Regions from separate parts of the Homo sapiens genome. Here region 1 is linked to region 2. Evidence: promoter capture Hi-C in 16 types of primary human blood cells and fetal thymus (Javierre and others, 2016). All regions are on one chromosome and are shown on one strand. Each heading gives the region's core, a stretch centred on a gene start or on the middle of the fragment in contact. The rest is flanking DNA. Distances are from core to core; before and after follow the strand shown.

The links. Contacts are between HindIII fragments. The CHiCAGO score rates a contact against its expected background, and 5 or more counts as called.
Region 1: a fragment that was not itself captured here is called in contact with the fragment with the promoter of RGMA in region 2 in 1 of 17 cell types (megakaryocytes); the score reaches 5.8 in megakaryocytes.

Annotation. Positions count from the first base shown.
Region 1 is chr15:94,067,746-94,073,410 of GRCh38, forward strand. All of the region lies in intron 2 of LINC01581 (long intergenic non-protein coding RNA 1581), which reads right to left. It overlaps LOC105369203 (a long non-coding RNA gene), which reads right to left. Exons shown (of 4, transcript XR_002957694.2): 2 at 2,779-2,902. Among named protein-coding and RNA genes, the nearest start is that of LINC01581, 37 kb to the right of the region's middle. The HindIII fragment of the contact is 572 bases long and covers 1,800-2,371 here.
Region 2 is chr15:93,084,153-93,090,775 of GRCh38, forward strand. It overlaps RGMA (repulsive guidance molecule BMP co-receptor a), which reads right to left and starts at 5,059. Exons shown (of 4, transcript NM_020211.3): 1 at 4,767-5,059. The coding sequence starts at 4,780. LOC101927025 (a long non-coding RNA gene) reads left to right here and starts at 5,062. Exons shown (of 5, transcript XR_007064769.1): 1 at 5,062-5,125. The HindIII fragment of the contact is 10,450 bases long and covers 232-6,623 here.

The DNA of each region.
Region 1 (5,665 bases), core at 836-3,335, 980 kb after region 2:
ACCATAGCAGTCAGTGTCTGCTTCTTATGCTGTGAATGTGCTTGTCTTTCTCTCCCAGTGGTAAGCTACCAGAGGGCAGATGGGGATTTTCTTATTTGTTTTTTAATACTTGCAGATTTGATAGTGTCTGATACTGAGTAGGTGCTTGCTCATAAACATCCAACAGCATAGCTCCCAGAATAGGATCTGAGACTTCATACAGCACTCAAGTCTTCATTTTCATTTTTTGTTGAATTTCACTTAAATATTCACTTTCCCCCACCAACTGGTTGACTTAAAACCTCGAATGTCTATTACTACATATAAGAGGCAGAATATTGGCCCCAAAGCAGTCTACATCTCAATGCCTGGAACCTAGGAATGTGTTCCCTTACATGACAAAGGACTGCAGGTAGAATTAAGACTGCTGTAGTTGACCTTCATATAAGAAAATTATCTTGGGTCATACCAGTAGGCCCAGTGTGCGAAGCTGAAAGAGCCAACCCCTCAAGATGGATCCTGAGTGGCTAGCTGGGCCTGAATTTAAAATGGAGCCAAGCAGCCAATTGCTGACTAGAGGTCACCCACATACTCTGGCTCCTGAAGAAACCACATGCTCTTGTAACTTTGGGACTTTTATACCTGTCTGTTCCTGTTTATGCCACCTCAATCAATGGCAGCCAGAAAGCCCCATCTCATCACTTGGACCTAAATAATAGACTGTGACCTGCTTCGACCAATCAGAACAAAACAAGCTTCAACCAATCTGAACTAAACAAGCTTGCATCCCTCATTTGCATGGTGGACCAGAGTGGAAACCTGGGTGGGAACTTTCTCTGTAAAATTCAACCCCTCTTTTTATTCTCTCAGAACACACTTTGGTTTTATGTGGAAGGCTGCATCTCCTCATAAGCAAACTGCTTGATGAAATAAAGCCTCTTTCTTTTTTAAGAAAAATCCTTTTCGGTGTATATTGAATATGTTCCCTTCTATGACAAAGAGGATTTAAGGTTGCAGGTGGAATTAAGAGTGCTATTTTGCTGACCTTAACATAGAAAGATTATCCTGAATTATCCCAGTAGACCCAGTGTAATCACAAGGATACCTAAAGTGAAAGAGGAAATCAGAAAAAAGGCCCAGAGAGATGGCAGCATGGAAAAATGACTGCACCCAAAATTGCTAATTTTGAGGATGGAGGAAGGGGCCACAAGCCAAGGAATACAGACAGCTTCTTAAAACTGGGAAAGTCAAGGAAACAGATTATCCCCAAGAGCCTCCAAAAGGGACACAGCTCTGCTGACACTTTAATTTTAGCCCAGTGAGACCTATTTTGAAACTGACCTCTGTAACTGTTAGATAGTAAATTAGTGCTGTGTTAAGCCACTACATTTGTGTAATTTGTTACATCAGCAGTAGGAAACTAATATGATAAGCCTATGTAATATAAGTTCTTATTCAACTATGAATCGTACCTCAGAGTATGGCATTTATTGGAATCAGTTTTGAAAATACTTTTGAAATTAGTATAAGGGAAATAACTCTTAGTTTACCGGACAGTTTTCCCTTTGAGAGAAGCCTGGGCCTGCTCATAATTCAGTAGGCTTTGAATCCAGCAAGAACCCCCAAAGAGTTTTGCCTAACTCAATGAGAGAAAAAAGCCCCAATGGGTTGTAAGACTCAGCTAAATAACCTAAATAATCAAGTGCTCATTTGATGTCTTTCACTTTGTAAGCTTCCACTTGCTAATACTGCCTTGGGTTTGGTGTGTTGAGTATTTACATCCTCAGAAAGTCAAAACATCAGGAAAATAACATTTTCTAAGCTTGATATCCTGGATATTAATCAATGACAATAGATCTTTGGAGATGTGTACACTAACAAAATCTCTTCCCAAAGTCAAAAATCTTATTTAAGAGTGGGTCATTATATAAATAGTTTCTTGAAAAATTTCTACCTTGGGATATACATCTTCATTGTACCATGCCATTCAAAACAATAGTAGATAAGTTATCACAGCTTTTTAAAAAAAGTGTGTGTAGGGTAATTTTTTAGCTATTGAAAGGATGAATTTAGGAAGATTTTCTCTTACACTTGAGTGGGTTGCCTTTGCTCTTTCCACAGTCGTCTCTAAGGGTTTTAACAAAAGCAATAAGAAAAAGACTGATAAGACTGGCATCTAAGGAAGATCTCTCGGCCTTCTAATGAGAGGATATATCAAAAAGAGTGAGACAAAAAACAAGCAGAGTTAAAAGGTTGTAAAAACAGCCGCAGTAGCTACCAAGACGGGATACCCACGCCCTGGCACACTTTGCTGTCTCCAAGGAAACGGAACTATTTCCTGATCTCGACACACACTTATTGTGCATATTGTCTTTCATTGTATTAGACTGAAAGCTTTTCATGGATAAGATAATAAGCCTGATTTACCTACATTTCTATTTTATGTGCCAAAGTTACTACGAATGTGAGCAATACTACTGATCTCGGTTTTATTTTAAAGTGATTAGTATTTGCAGATTTGTGTCAATTTACATATTTATGGGGATGGTCATTTCAATCCTTTGGCTAGCCTGGAAATCCAAAGTAGAGTGGCAGATAAGAAAGGAAAGAACAGGAGAAAAAAAAAAGTAAACAAACGAACAAGGTTTTACTCAATTCTTCAGTCTTCCCAAGCCCTTTGGTTTTCCCACCTCTCTCCTGCACAGTTAGTAATACTTGACATTTATAGAGCTGCTTTCCAAACAAAGACCCCGGAAGGTTTAATGCACTGTGCTAGCAGGCAGAAGGGGAATGACTCACCCGCCGGGTGCAGGGCGCCACCTCTAGTGTAGAATGCGGCAGCTGGGACACAGCTGGTGGGTAATGAGTGCCCGGCGATGGCTCAGAACAGGAAGTGAAAAAGAAATCCAGGGTCTGGTGAAAGCTTCAAGGGAAACAGGAGGCAGCAGCGTGAAACACACCGGCATGTTGCTGCGGTGTCAGTCCCGCAAAACATTCAGACCCCCTTCTCAAGGGCAGAGGGAGGCATTTTCCAGCCTAGCGTAGCAAAGCATCGGTGGTCAGGAACTGGGTCTTCCTAATCAGCCCTGCCAAGTTGGAAGAGCGGCAGCTTAAAGAGATGGGAGCGCCATCCCTTGAAATGGCGGAAACAGGAAGCGGAGATGCCTCTGCTGTGGGGGACCGTGCCTTGGGTGGTGGGAACAGAAAAGAGGGACTGTCTTCCCACTGTACCTCAGTGTGCAGTATTGTACCCAGCAGATGAGGACAAAAACCATCACTTTTCACTTAAGGGTTTAAAATTAACCTTTGGTCAGTTCCAAATATTTTAAAGATTAGTTTCCTGGAGAGTTTGTCTCATGCCTGGAGGATTGAAACACTCTTTTCAATTTGTTCACTTTTGACATTTTTAGTGCATCTCCTTAAATTATATCCAGGCATGGAAATAAATGAGGATGAAGGCTCCAGGGCTTTCTGGTTTTGTTGCTATTCTTAGCAAAAGGTTTGAAGAAAATAAAGGGGCAAAATACTTCTGGTTCATCTGGGCCTGTGGAGCCCTTTGTGCTGATGCAAAGTTAATAGTAACTGTGATAAAATCGCTACAAATATGATAAATGTGAAGCCAACAAGAAGTCAAGAGTCACTGCTCTGAGATGACAGGCTCGGAGCAGGGTATGTGATGGAATGAAGTTTAAGCTCAGCTTAGGGATCTTTTCTTGAAGAGAGAGCAAATAAGGTTTCAGCGTGCATGCCATGTTAAGAAGGATTCTGAGACCACAGCTAACAGACTCAGCCCAAAGAACGACATGCAGAGGGGTGGACAGAGGCACTGTGCATCTGCAACCTCAGTGGGAACACGAGAGCGGAGACAGACATGGTTGCGGGTCATTTTTCTGAAACGCGTTATGGGCAGTTTCCTGAATTTAAAAGAAAAAACTTCTTATAATGTGACTCTAGGGTATGCAGAGTTTTTCTGGGACCCCCATAGTCAGCCCTTGAGATGAAGATGAAGACTCTTCAGCCTACCCCCTTGTATTGAGCCCCATTCTCTGAGACACTCACTGTAGGTACCTGGAACATCAGGGGTTCTATGAGTTAACGTGATCTGGGCTTGTTAGCAGTGTGGATTCTTTGAACCGGCCTCTGGGAGTGGAGCTGAGGATAATAACTAACTTTTATGAAGCATTTCCTATGTGCTAGGAAATGTTCTGGGAATTTTCTAAACATTAGCATTTGCACTCACTCCCCACCACACCCCATGAGGTAGACAATTTTATATTTATTTTATAACCTGAGACTTGCTGAGGTTAACTTCAAGCATGTGGCAGAGGGAGAATTCAAATCTAAGTCTGTCTGACTTTAAATGTAATTCTAATTGACATTTACACGTGTTTTCATTTAATTCTTGTTATAGTCCTGATATTATCTTCATTTCATGGATAATCACATTGAGATCCCCAAAAGATTAAGTAACTTGTTGAAGATGCTGTGGCTACTGCACGGCAAAGTTAGAATTCTCACGTTGTCAGGTCCACTCTGTGGCTCGGTTCTTAATGGTCATGATAAGTGCACACCCAACACCTTCCACTTCCTCATACGGCCTTTCACGTAAGGGAGAATTTTCACTTTGGGCATGGGAAGGCCTTTTGAATAAATTGCCTGAGAACTCTTCACATGTAATATGTACAGAATAAGGCCAGTATAGTCATCTTAGCAAAGGGGAGCAAGAGTGCTAGAAAATGACTTAGGGAGGGCACAGATTATGTAAATTTGTGTAGATCCTGAGAAGAAAAATTGTGAACAGAAATTTGTACTAAAGCGAGAAGATTGAATCTAGTAAAGGGCAGAATGATGGCCAACACGGTGAAACCCCATCTCTACTAAAAATAAAAAAATAATTAAAAAAAAATAGCTGGGCGTGGTCACACACGCCTGTAATCCCAGCTACTTGGGAGGCTGAGGCAGGGGAATTGCTTGAACCTGGGAGGAGAAGGTTGCAGTGAGCAAAGATTGCACCACTGCACTCCAGCCTGGGTCACAGTGTGAGACTCTATCTCAGAAAAAAAAAAAAAAAAAAAGAGATTAAGGTCTCAGAACTCTAGGCTCCAGAATTAACAGATCTATTATTTGGTCATCTGCTTATAGAGAGATAAGAAAGATTGAGAGATGGAAAAATAAAAAGGGTCTCATGACACGTCAGTGGAAATGGCTGATTTGACTAGATAAGCTAAGAAATAGGCCAACTAATTAGGAGAAAGCATGTTTGCATTATTTTCTTTAGATTGGAGGAAGTAGAGGAGTTTTATAAAAATATGGTTCTCAGGTCACCTGCATCAAAATCATGTAGGGTAACAGAGGGCTCCGTAAAATGTAGATTCCTGGGCCTTTTCTTACACCCACTGAGTCAGAATACACAGGTAGTGACCCTCAGCATCCCACAGGATTGGTCTGTGCTCTTGGACCTGTTTCACTTTAGGTAGGGGTTATGTTTTCAAGCTCTGAGATCAGGATGGATTGAGTTCCAGTCTACAATTTCACCACTTTCTAAAGGACCTTAGGAAATGACTTTTCCTACTCCAGTCATTGATAGTAGTTATCACCCTCGGGATTTTTTCCCCTTTTGCTGTATTTCTATGCACTAACATCACTAATAAAATATTTTTTAAAATATAGAATTTTACACTAGGTT
Region 2 (6,623 bases), core at 3,809-6,308:
GCGTGGAAGAAGAGAGAGTTCCGTGGCTATGTTCCTGTAAGGGGAATCTATTCTTCAGGCTGCCACTGTCAGAGCTGAAAATGCACACTGGCAACACATTTCTAAGTCACTGAGAGGAACCCAGCATTTGCCCAGGAGACGTTTTTGAGCAAGCCTCTTTTGGATGAGCATTTGAACGGGCAGAATGGTATTCCGGCAAGGCATTCATCAGCAAGGTCTTCTATTCTTACAAGCTTATAAGTGGGTCAGACTTTGATGGAGAGAACCAAACTTTGTGAAAGCACCTCAAACGATCAGATGTCAAGGTTTTTTTGTTTTTTTGTTTTTTGTTTTTTTTTGAGATGGAGTCTGGCTGTGTTGCCCAGGCTGGAGTGCAGTGGTGTGATCTTGGTTCACGGCAACCTCCGCCTCCTGGGTTCAAGCGACTCTCCTCTCTCAGCCACCGGAGTAGCTGGGACTACAGTCATGTGCCGCCACACCCGGCCAGTTTTTACACTTCTAGTAGAGACGGCGTTTCACCATGTTGACCATGCTGGTCTCGAACCCCTGACCTCAAGTGATCTGCCCGCCTTGGCCTCCCAAAGTGCTGGGATTACAGGAGTGAACCACCGTGCCTGGCTATCTCAGGGTTTTTGAATAGACAATCTGGAGAGGAGAGACACATCATGGTGCAGATCAGTTGAGAAAAGTATAAAAGTCTAATAGGGGAGTGAATCCTAAAGAAGAGTATGCACTGTGGCTGACAATACTAGTAATGTGAGGGATGTGTAGGGGCCTTCAGGGGTAGGTATATGTACGTTGCATGCTTCCACCTAATCTTGTTTAAAGACATCAAGGAGAAAATTCTTCAAAATACCTACAAAGGATAAAAATGGGTTGCATCCATCTTCAAGAAGAAATGTACACTAAGAATAAAATAATGTTATCAAAACTCTTACTGAGAAATTAGGCAGAATATCTCTGTTTCACAAGGACAGAAGAATGGAATATTACCAGGAAACAGAGCAAACTGTTCCTGTCAGCCAGGGTGAGCTGCTCCAAAGACCCTGATCTTAAGAGTCCATGAAGATGAAAAAATGAAATATAAGGAGAAGCCACAACAGACGGTAACTACTAAAATGTCCTGCCAAGACAGAAGTCAATGAGTTTTGGGGCGTTTTTACTCATACCCGCTGATCTCTGTTTTGGCCCACAGAGGACACAGAACCTATGGGAATTGGCCTCCTTTGACCAGATAGTTGACAGAGTCTTTAAACCTTCTGCCTAATTTTCAGGCTCTGGGAAATCCAGTATTTTGCTTTCTGAAAGTTCTTCACCTCATAGCACTGCTTTAAACAAGCAACTGAAAAATGAGAAAAGTAAATCCAACCAGCAATTCTGTAGTCACTCTCTGCATAAACTGTTTGCTACACTTCCATTATTTACTGTGGTAATCTGGATATAATCATTTCGTAAGTTGGGTAGGTACATAGTACATTTTTATGTTAGTCAGTTACCAGTGACTTAAAACTTTTTATATGAGGTTATAAAAGACATTTGCATTTATTTTGTCAATTTCTGCCCTACTTTTAAAATTCCTTCTTCTTCCTGCCCTAAGAATTGTAAAGTTTCACACCTCACTAGGCATTCTTGCCTCCTGACCCCTGGGTTCTAACATGATACAGCACTTCTACTCACAGGACGGACCTGGCTAAGAAACTGGGTATCCTTTCAATAGAGTTCATTTGTTCATCTGTCACCAAGGAAACTGACTTCTGCCTGGCCTTGTATGCATACTTGGGTAAGGCAATCCTTAATTTTTTCCACTGCCCTATTCATTGCTCCTTTATAGCTCTGTTGCTAAGAGAAGAGAGGCTGAAACTGAGCAGTCATTTGCTCAAAATAAGAAAAAGAGGAGCCTGTCTTTTGGATAGGCTGGATACCAAACAGGTGGGGAAACCTGGAGCTTCCCTTCTTCAGGTTAAATTTATGTTCAGTTAAGTTTGTGGAATGGCTACATAATGGAAGCAAAGCCATTCCCTAAAAGAGCCACAGGAACACCACAGACACTTAAAAGTTAACTAAACTTACCTTTGGGATGTTATAAGTCAAGTTCTAGAATAATTACCTGTAAGGAGTAGTGTCATTTCGTTTCACAGAACTAACAGATTCCAATTTGCCTGCGCTGCTTTCAGATAATCCTTCTATGTTTTTGCTCAATTGCACTTGGATACTTCCTGCCTCTTTCCCTGGATGGCAGGCTTCTTGATGGATCGGTGACCGTGCCTTCTTTCATGTCTATACTGCATGCTTCAAGGCAGGAACAAATTTTGCAACCATACTTGGTAAAAACAAGCGCTAGAACTTAATTCATTTGGTAGCAAGGTTGTAGGGGGAAAAACGCACTTTAGACTCACAGAACACTGGCCATATCCCTTCTGCTTTCTGGCCATCAGTTTCTTCTGAGAAACTGAAAATACCAGCACCCATTCCTGCCTGCTTCCTGGGAGCAGCAAGCATCCCTGGAAGAATGGCTGAAAAACTCCCTGTCCCAGTGTCAGGGATGCTCAGTCCCTATTTATTTCATTTTGCAACTGCTCGTCTAAGAATTCTTGGGCTTGGCTTCTCACAGGGCTGCTGAAGAGCAAGGGATTGTATTAAAAAGGAGATTCTTGTGCCTTTATTGTCTATTATTACATACACTGGGAAGCAGCAAGTTATTCCTTGGAGGAGGTTTGTAAAAAGAGAAAGCAGGCAGAGGTTTCTTAGCAAAAGTCAAAGGTGCCCTCCTTGAATGAGATGCCAAGCTATTCTAAGACCTCGTCTGTCACAAGTCTCATGATGACATAAATACCTACCAATGGAGACACAGTTTGAGACAGCATGACGGGGCAGACCAGCCACCCACCATTTCATATGTCTATTGGAGAATGTAAGCAACTGTCTGACACCTGGGAGGGAAATAATGGAAGCAGGGTACTTGAAAAAAGGAGGCTAAGACCTCTTTCACTACCAGCACAGCCCAGAGAGTCTCAAGGGGGTACTACAGTAGACCACTACACTGCTCTACAAGGGGCCAGGGTGCCCTTCAGAACCGGGTGAGCCCAGCTCACTGCTAATATATTATCTGGCCTGGAAGGTGGCAGCAAAAACCAGCCACAGAGAACGTGGAGCCCGCCTGGATGTGTGGGTGCCCCACCCAGAGCCTTTGTCTGCAGAACTTGCCATCCAGCCACGTCTGCCCCAGTTGTTAATTGGAGATCATGTCCCTGTAAAGGGGGCTTGCTTGTCACTTGCTGTGGTAACAGCAAGAAACCCCTTCTTTGTATGTGCAAAAAAAAAAAAAAAAAAAACCACAAAACCCAGTTTGGGTACACTATTCTGTTCCTGCACAAATGGGCAGGAGGCCCTCTCCCAGTTCTCCTCCTGTTGCCCTTCGGAGCACAGTTACTCTCTTTTCTAGGGGTCATGGCTCAAAATCCACCCAAGAAATCACCCGTTTGTGATGCACAGGAGAAGACAGAGGTTTGTGCATTGGTTTTCAAGATCTCTGCACCAGATACCTGCGGAAGGGGCATCTTCTTACAGCAGTTAACATTTTATATTACGTTTTTGCTGGAAGAGTCTAAAACCAAACAGAGAAGGTGATGGAGCTCCTTTAGGTGACAGCATGCCACTCAACACGACCCGCAATTTCGTCCCCTGAGCTCAATGTGCTGAGCATGGGAGGTCGGGGTTCTCCCTGGTACCGTCGATACTCAGAGAGCTTCTGTAGCCTCCTTCCTGGAGGCGAGGGCTGGTTCCCGCCTCTCCACCTTGTGCGGGAGACTACTTTGAGAACACCCAACAACTTCGCAGCCTAAGAGGAATGCACAGCTCACCACTTCCGCTAGATGGCGCTACTTCCCCTACTCCGCCCGCGAGACACCCAATTTATAAAATAAATACAACCCAACACCTCCCAAAACCACACCACATAATAGCAGCTCACAGGCTCCCATTAGAAATCTCAATTTGGGAGAACTGATTCTACCTCCGAGCAAGTCTAATACAATTACATTAATAAGACGCAATCCCGAATTGCACCCGAGCGTCCCCCACACCCGCCCTCCCATTGAATACACCTGTCCCCCATGCCCGGGCTTGTACCCTGGGTTGAGCTGCGGCGCGAGCCGGCGCTGAATCGTCGCCGTGCCCTCCCGTCCACTTAGGAAAGCCGGGGCGGCTTGGCAATGGGCATCCTCGGCCCTCAATCCAAGGTCCGCACCTTCCCGTACGCCGGCGCGCCGAGGCAAAGGGCCGCCGGGACGCGAGCCCACGCGGTGCACTGCGCCGACATCCCCGAGGGCAGGAGATGGCCAGGCAGCTCCGCAGCCGGGCGTCGAGCGGGAGGCGGGGGCCCGGGCGGCGCGGGCCAATGGGGGTTCACGGCGGGACAGTCGGGTGGCCGGCTCCGTCCGGGGCTCCGCGAGCCGGGCTGAGGGAAGGAGCTCCCAGCCCGCACACGGTGTAAGGGACGTGTGCCGGGTCTGCCCAACCACGCGCGCTGGCGGCTGCCCGGGGGAGAGTATTTTAGGAAAAAAGAACAAACACCAAACCACAAAAACTTTCCTGCTGCCAACAGCTAAAGCGATAGAGGCGCAGCAAAGCTCCAAATGTGGGCAAGATGGGAGCAAGATGAGACGCGGGGCTAAGGAAGACCAAAGCAGCGCCGTGGCCCCGGCATGTGTCGGCGGCGCCTCGGAGATGTCAGAGCCGGGTCTGCCCGGCTCCCGACCCGCGCTTACCTTGGCGGCTGCATGAGCCCCTGCGGCCCGCGGGGGGTGGCGCTGGCGGGGCTGCGGGAGAAGAGGGGGTGTCGGGGCGCCGCTCGTCTGCCCCGGGGCAAGGTGGGAGGGGCTCCGCTGGCGCTGGTCCCCGCCGCCCCGGCCGGCTCAGCAGCGGCCCGGGGAGCGCCTCCTGCTCCCGGGCTGCATGCCTGCGAGCGCCTGGCGGAGCCGGCCCGGGAGCGAACGGCCAGTGCTTCCCCGGCCCAGCGGCTCGGGCGGCGCAGCCAGCGCTCGGGAGACAACTGCAGAGTGGGGCGGCCGGGACCAGCCCCCTCCCTCGCCCGGCCCCCGCCCGCCGCCGAGCGCGGCGTCGCGAGGTTCGTTTGCGCGCCGAGGGGAGGGGGCGGGCCGGGCGCCCGGGCCGCGGGCGGGGGGCGCGCGCGGGCGGGGCCGGCAGGGAGGGGCGGGGAGGAGCGGGGTGCGGGCTCGCGTTGCCCCGCCCCGCCGCGGCCCCACCCTCCCGCATCAGCACCGGCTGGGTGGGTGCGGAGTGCGCCAGCGGCCAAGTCAAGACTCCTTGAATGCTCAGGTTAGGGGGCGCGGGCGGCAAGTGCGGCGACTCCCCGGGGCGCCTCCAACTTTCCGAATCGCCCGCAGGGTTGCGGTGGAGCGCACGGTGTCCTTCAGTTAGGCGGTGGTCGAGGGGAGTTCCTCTGAGATTTCTGGAGAAGGCGGTTACATCCAAGACAAATGCTGTTGCGCTCTGCGGAGACGCACCTTTGTTCTATAGAGATTTTGTTGTTGTTTAAGAATCTTCCTGAAAAAACTAATACATATGTATTACATGCTAACACACGCATACATTCTTGCGTAGAATTGTACATAACTCAGGAGTGTCTAGAGTGAAAAGACCGTATCGCACTCCCTCCCACGGCCGCGGCTCTCCCACGGCCGCGGCTCCCCCGCGGTAACCTTCGGTCAGGGTGTGCTCTGCCGCGGTTCTTTCCAGTCTCTGCGCTTTTACATGCACACGCACAGATTGCGAGTGGAATCTCCTGGGCTTTTCAAAAGAATGTTTTCAACATTAAGCGCATGCACACAGTGGCTTGAACACGGCCACGTCGGGAGCAGTAAATCCCCAGAGGCTCCGGGAGCCCAGGGAAGGACCCTTGCTGTGAAACAGCAAAGAGCCACCCAATCGCCATGTGTGGATCTGAAACCCCAGCTGGAGCGTGAAGTCGGTCTGGTTACACAGCTCAGGCCCAAATTAGCACTGCACGGTTAGAGAGATTTGCCAGTACATTCTAGACAGGGTTATGACCTTCCCCTTCTTACAGAACAAACTGTCTTGAATTTTGATATGATGAGAACTCTGGATTTGCAAAATGAAAAGGTATCGTCCGCATTAAAACACGATCGTTATTTATGCGTGTGGTCTTCAGAGATGTGGTTTTAACTCAATATTCTCCGTTTTATTTGTCAAGTGTATTTGTATAATCTATAGCTGGGATATAAATAAAATTAAGTGGTTTAGCAGGAAGGGATTGGGGATGGGTTTCTAGAATTAGCTCTGACCTTCGGCAAGTCATCTAGCTCTGCTGGGCCTCAGTTTCCTCATCTATGAATAGTAGGGTGTGTGTGTGTGTGTGTGTGTGTGTGTGTGTGTGTGTGTGTGTGGTCTTCCTGCCCTGACATTCTGTGCCCTGACATTCAGTGAATAACCAATTTCTTCATCTTTCATAGCTCAGCTCCAACATCTTCCCCACCCTCTAGGGAGTCCTCACATCCGTGCCTTTCCTTCCTAACACTGAGCTCACTCGGTAATTAGGCGCTCATTAGAGTGACCTTTCCCTACATGTTGGCCTCTCCCACCGT